Regions from separate parts of the Homo sapiens genome. Here region 1 is linked to region 2. Evidence: promoter capture Hi-C in 16 types of primary human blood cells and fetal thymus (Javierre and others, 2016). All regions are on one chromosome and are shown on one strand. The core of a region is centred on a gene start or on the middle of the fragment in contact, and the rest is flanking DNA. Distances in the headings are between cores, read along the strand shown. Region 1 overlaps KIF9 (kinesin family member 9). Region 2 holds the start of SETD2 (SET domain containing 2, histone lysine methyltransferase).

The links. The method cuts DNA at HindIII sites, captures the fragments that hold promoters and counts their contacts. A CHiCAGO score of 5 or more calls a contact.
Region 1: a fragment that was not itself captured here is called in contact with the fragment with the promoter of SETD2 in region 2 in 1 of 17 cell types (megakaryocytes); the score reaches 5.0 in megakaryocytes.

The regions. Positions count from the first base shown.
Region 1 is chr3:47,244,195-47,246,913 of GRCh38, forward strand. It overlaps KIF9 (kinesin family member 9), which reads right to left. Exons shown (of 21, transcript NM_182902.4): 13 at 2,003-2,058; 14 at 1,227-1,317; 15 at 597-730. Among named protein-coding and RNA genes, the nearest start is that of SNORD13J, 5.1 kb to the right of the region's middle. The HindIII fragment of the contact is 604 bases long and covers 979-1,582 here.
Region 2 is chr3:47,162,724-47,165,423 of GRCh38, forward strand. SETD2 (SET domain containing 2, histone lysine methyltransferase) reads right to left here and starts at 1,390. Exons shown (of 21, transcript NM_014159.7): 1 at 1,131-1,390. The coding sequence starts at 1,201. It overlaps KIF9-AS1 (KIF9 antisense RNA 1), which reads left to right and starts at 1,647. Exons shown (of 7, transcript NR_033373.1): 1 at 1,647-1,874. RefSeq lists silencers at 683-992, 1,043-1,792, 1,843-1,892. The HindIII fragment of the contact is 4,411 bases long and covers 1-2,700 here.

The DNA.
Region 1 (2,719 bases), core at 31-2,530, 81 kb after region 2:
TTGGGTGTGAGAAGTGCAGAGCAGGGAAGGGAGCCCAGGCGTCAGCTCCAGAGCCTGTGCTCTTACCCACCACTACACAGCACCCTGGGAGGGCTCACTAAGTGAACCTAAATGCTCTTCCCACCTTGCACATACAAACGAGTCTTGCCTGAAAGGTGAACTGGAGTTTTAGGTGACCTGAGTGCCAGTCGGCGGGAAGACCCTAGTGAAGTGAGGGGAGGGGGTACAACATAAAGTACCAGAGGGCATGGGCTCTGGAGAGCTGGTCCAGCTTCTTGCTGCCATTCCACTACTCATTGGTGGTATGGCCTTGGTGAGTGACTTCCCCTCTCTAAGCCTCTGTTTCTTCATCAGTGTAATGAAGACATTAACTCCCACCTCACCAGGTTGCTGTGAGGACGAGAGATGATTCTTGTGCGGTTCCAAACCAGCCCCAGCCCGGGCCCCACAGACTTGCTAGTATTGGCAGCAGTGACGTCCATTGTGCCAACCCAGTAGCTGAGACACCAGGGGGAAAGTGGGAACAGTGCACATCCTCCCATGCACCCACCGAGGAGGGCCAGCTGCTGAGGAGGCAGAGCGGCAAGGTCACTCACCTGAGTGGCTCTTTGAATGTCTTCTTGGACTTGGCTTTCTTCCCAGGTTTGGTAGAGAAAGGGGCGACTCCGAGTCCAAAGTTTTGTCCTTCAGGCTCACCCACTAGGTGGCCATCAACATCCACAAGCCCCGCCTACATAGAGAGGCCAGCCAAAGGTCTGTGAGTTAGATTAAGGGCTTGGACCCCTTGGGGACCCACATGTATATGGCCCAAGGCTCAGGGTGGACATGTTCACCATACACACCAAGGTTTGACAGCTGCTGATGCCAGCCTCAGGCTGTCCCCTGTAGAGCGGTCCCTGACCACTCTGCCAAATGTCCACTTTCCACATGCACCCCCTCACCAGTATGGCACCTCATTCCATACTCTGGGGATCTTAAAGCTTATTTCCAACCTAATTCCAGGAAATCGTCTTTAATATTATTATCCATGTCTCTACCTTATGGAAATTATTTTTAATTCAAAAGTGGTTTACTCTTAACACAGGTCACCTGTGTTCATTCTGGTGTTACCTTTATCTGTTGCAATCCTAGCTCTGGTTTAATGCATTAATACTTGCTGGCTCTGCAAAGGTCTGAGGATGGGAAATCTGAGGTGAGTGCTGTCGGCAAGTAGCAACTATGCTTACCTTCTGGATAGCAGAAATGGCTGCAAAGTCATTCCTGTCAATGAGGGTGTACTTCCTGCGCAAAGTGGACTCCACTTCCTGTTCCTGTTGGCTTGGGAGACAGCAAGAGAGAACAGCTTGTACCTGGGGCCATGCTGAATCCACTGGGGCAAGAACCAAGTACTGGGGTTAAAAGTCATATGGGTGAGGCCCCTTGTGTGGGGCCACACCTTCATCATGAACCAGACCAGACAAAAGGACAAAGGACTCACTTCCCCCTGCCCCATTGCATATACCCACTGTCCGACCCCCATACCCACAAGGGCTACCTTATGTCATGTGTGTCTGCTCCAAGATGACACTTGATAAGGACCGTAAGCTTCACTTGGGACCATGTGGGGTTCTGTCTTAGGTTCTGTCTCTAAGAGGCCACTTGGAATCACATGACCAGCTTTAGTGACACCACCTAGCATAAGCTGCTCAGACTATGGGTATGTTTGCACCCAAATAAACCACAAATGCCTCCTGAGGTGGGAGTGTGTGTTGCAATATTCACAAGGTGAATATTCACAATGCCCTGCTCTGGGCACTCTCAGAGCTGGCACTCCATAAACACCTCCTGTCCAATTAATGAACTCACTGAATATCCACCAGGGACCCAGGCATGCCCCCAAGGACTCTGATTTGGCTCTTCATCCACAAGCAAGAAGAGGAGCTCTTGGAGGCAAGTGCCCAGATGGCAGGAGATGAAAATGGCAGCCTGATGTAGGAATGAGGTAGGGGTGGGGGTCTCTCACCTCAGAACCACCCGGAACTGGTTGAACACCTCCTTGATCTGTCTAAGGCTGATTATCTGGAGGGAAGACAGCAAGGCAGAGGTTAGACCAAGGGCACCTCGAGGGACCAGGGGGCATCTATGTTAGTAGAGAAATCAAGACCCCTTGGCTGACCCCTGGACCATCTGTCTCGAGAAGAGGACGTGTGCACACAGCCTCTCAGCGAAGTGGCAGCCAAGCCCTCCTCCAGAGCAGAGAAACACCTGATTAATAATTTTAAAACTAAGTATTTGCTGAGGCTATAAAAACCACCTTTTCGAAGTGGAGACCTCTATAAAATGAAATGATTCTATACCTTGAAAATACCTTCTAAAGGTTTTTTTTTTTTTTTTAATAAAATGTACTTCTCAGCTTTCTCTTACTTCCAAAAGGTTCTGCCTGCTGTCTTCAGATGGAGCCCATTTATGGTCCTGTCTGCATGGGCACAGACACACACACGAGGCTGGAGGAAGGTTACTGGCCTCCCCCCAGCCTAAAGCCCACAGCATTCCCCTTGATCAAGGGTTAATTTGGGACTGCCCCTCCTGTGAAGGCCAGAAGAGTCCATCCCTTAGTTGTCCCAGGCCTGCTTCTCGGAGCTGCCCACAGTAACAGCCAGGGGGGTCTGCCCATGTCTCCAAGAAGAGGGGTTTGATGGACTGCACTGTGAAAACAGGATGCAGCCTTCCCCCTGAGGAC
Region 2 (2,700 bases), core at 140-2,639:
TGTGAAACCCCTATCAACCGATAAGTTTTAAATCAATAGTATATTCCTAGGTCTAACACCAGCAAACGGTGTTTAAGAACGGCTTTTCAAAACAATGGTCTCGTGAGGGTTCAGGGAAAGAAGTGACTCCAGGCTTTCTGAGATAGCAGATACAGCAGCAGATTCAGACCTCAAGAGAAATGTAAAGGTGTCCTAGACTGAAAAATTACTATTGGGCAAAACTGTGTGTCGGTTTTCCACAACATTGTCTTCTTTAGAGAATCCTCAAACGATTCTTGGTTTTTAACCAAGTCTTCACAAGAAATAGAAAGTCATCCGTTTAGGGTAAGAGATTCCTGTTACCAAGAAAATTGTGTCCGAAAGTGTGAAAATCTCACAACCTGCAAGAAAATGTATGTCCCTCAGGAGGCTTTCATTTTCAAGCGGAAAAACAAACCCGGTGTCACCTCAACAACGGGACCACACAAACCTCGCCATTACAAAACCCAAGTGCCAAAGGTGCACAATGTGAATCCGGAAGCACTGCAAGGCCAGGATCGAGTTCCCAGGAGGAAAAAATCAAACTCAGGAGTGCAGCGCGGGCCCCTCCACGGCCCGGGGGCCAGGCAACCCGCGCTAGGCCCTTCCGGTCCGAGGCGCCGCCGTCGCGGGGAGGTCGGGCGACGGGTCGAGCTTCCACCCGAGCCCGGGGATTCGCGGCCTACCCTCACCGGCGCCCTCTTGCCGGGCCCGGCACCGGCAGCTCCTCCGACTCTGCCCTTTGGCTAGCAGCGGGGCCCGGACGAGCCACGAGGAGCCCGAGAGGACCGCCGAGCCCCGGGATGGCCGGGTCGGTGCGGACACGGCGGTAACCGTAGGGACCGTGGCCGCCCCTCCCCCACCGGCCCGGCCCAACCGCCGCCGCGACACGAGCAGCGGCGCCAACGCCGGGCCCAACCGCGGGCCTGCTGCGGCCCCGGCCAAGCGGCTCGAAGTGGCGGCGCGGGCCTGCTCCCGACACCGACCGCGCGAGGCCACCGTGGGCCTGTTACTCCTCGCGCCGGCCCGCGCCGCCACCCGTCAGGACGCGCCGCCCTCGGCTGGGGATAAGGCGGCCGACAGCAGCGGGGGGCCGCGGAGCTGATACTTACTCAGGGGTCGGGTGCTCCGGGTCGTAGAAATCCCCCATCTTCGGAGGCGGCTGCGGCTGCAGCTGCTTCATCGGGAGCGGCTGGAGACGGCGACGCGAGCCCCCTCCCCGCAGCAGGGCGACGCGGGGGAGGGGAGGGGAGGAGGCCGCAGGTCCGACCGCGGCGGCGGCGGCGGCGGCGGCGGCGGCGGCAGGGGCGGCCCGCGTCGCTACCTCGCTCGTCGCTCCCTCCCTCCCTCGGACGCCCGCCAGCCGCTCTCTCCCTCTCACCCTCACACCGGGAGCGACGCACACCCCACCCGCCCCTCAGCTTCGCAGGCCCGGCCCCTTAAAGAGACACACACGGGCCACCGATCTGCCGCCAGTCGGCGTGCCTTGCAGCTGTTGGCTTGACCCCAGGCCGGGACGGGCAGAGCGGAACACTGCCCGGCGGGTCCAGGCCGACCGTGCCTGTGGCTCTCCGGAACAATAAACCCCCGGCCCCAGTGATGTGGGCCAGACCGGACCTGGAGAGGCGGCACCGCGACCCCTCCCGCAACCCGCCTGGCGGCCGGGGGCAGCGTGACCCGGCCCGCTACCGTGTCACAGCTGGCGACTGACAAACAGCAGGCGACGTCGGGAGAACTCCCCGAGACACCCGAGACATCAGCCTTCTCGCTCCGCGGCCCTGCAGGACCTGCCCGCCGGGAGCCCCGGAGTCCGCGGCAGCGCCGAGGGCCCCTCCCCCAGGCCTCTGGGCTCTGAGGTAACGCGGCCGCGGCTGCTCCCGGGCCCCTCGTCCCACTCGCCCCTCTCTTTTTTATTTTTCCTCGCCCTCTCTCTCCCTTGCCCGTTCATCTCGACCCTTTAGCAAGCATGGAAGCCCAGCGAGGCGGGGGATTGCTCGGAGGCCGAGCTCCCGGCAGCCTCCTCCGCCTTCCTTCCCGCTGTGCCCTCGGGGCTCCTACCTCCACCTCGGCGCGGCGCTCTGCCCCCACCCGAAGTCTCCAAGGCGGCAGCTCCCCTCTCCTGTGTGGTTCTTGGGGCCTTAGAGGCAATGTCATGAAAAAAAGGGTATTAATCACTTTCCTACAGAAATGATAAGATGAGACTAAGTAGAATAACTTGAAAGAGCTACGAGTTGTTATTTTTGGAAGGAGAGATAGGAACGCGTAAATCCAATAGCTAAACTTTCTAGACGCTGAAGAGTTTTTGGCGATAGATCATTTTGACATTGGGGGTTCATAGGGTTAGCGTTTTTTGTGTTGTTGTTGCTGTTGTTTTTCCACTAGAATTTTGAATCGGATTTTACCAGCAATTGGTAACGGAAAGGAAAGGATGTGTCTTCCAATTGAGAAACAGTGGTTAAAAACTGAAAGTGGGCCGGGCGCGGTGGTTCACGCCTGTAATCCCAGCACTTTAGGAGGCCGAGGCGGGCGGAGTAACTGAGGTCAAGAGTTCCAGACCACACTGGCCAACATGGCGAAACCCCATCTCTACTAAAAATACAAAATTTAGCCGGGCGTGGTGGCGCACGGCTGTAATTCCAGGTACGCGGGAGGCTGAAGCAGGAGAATCGCTTGAACCCAGGA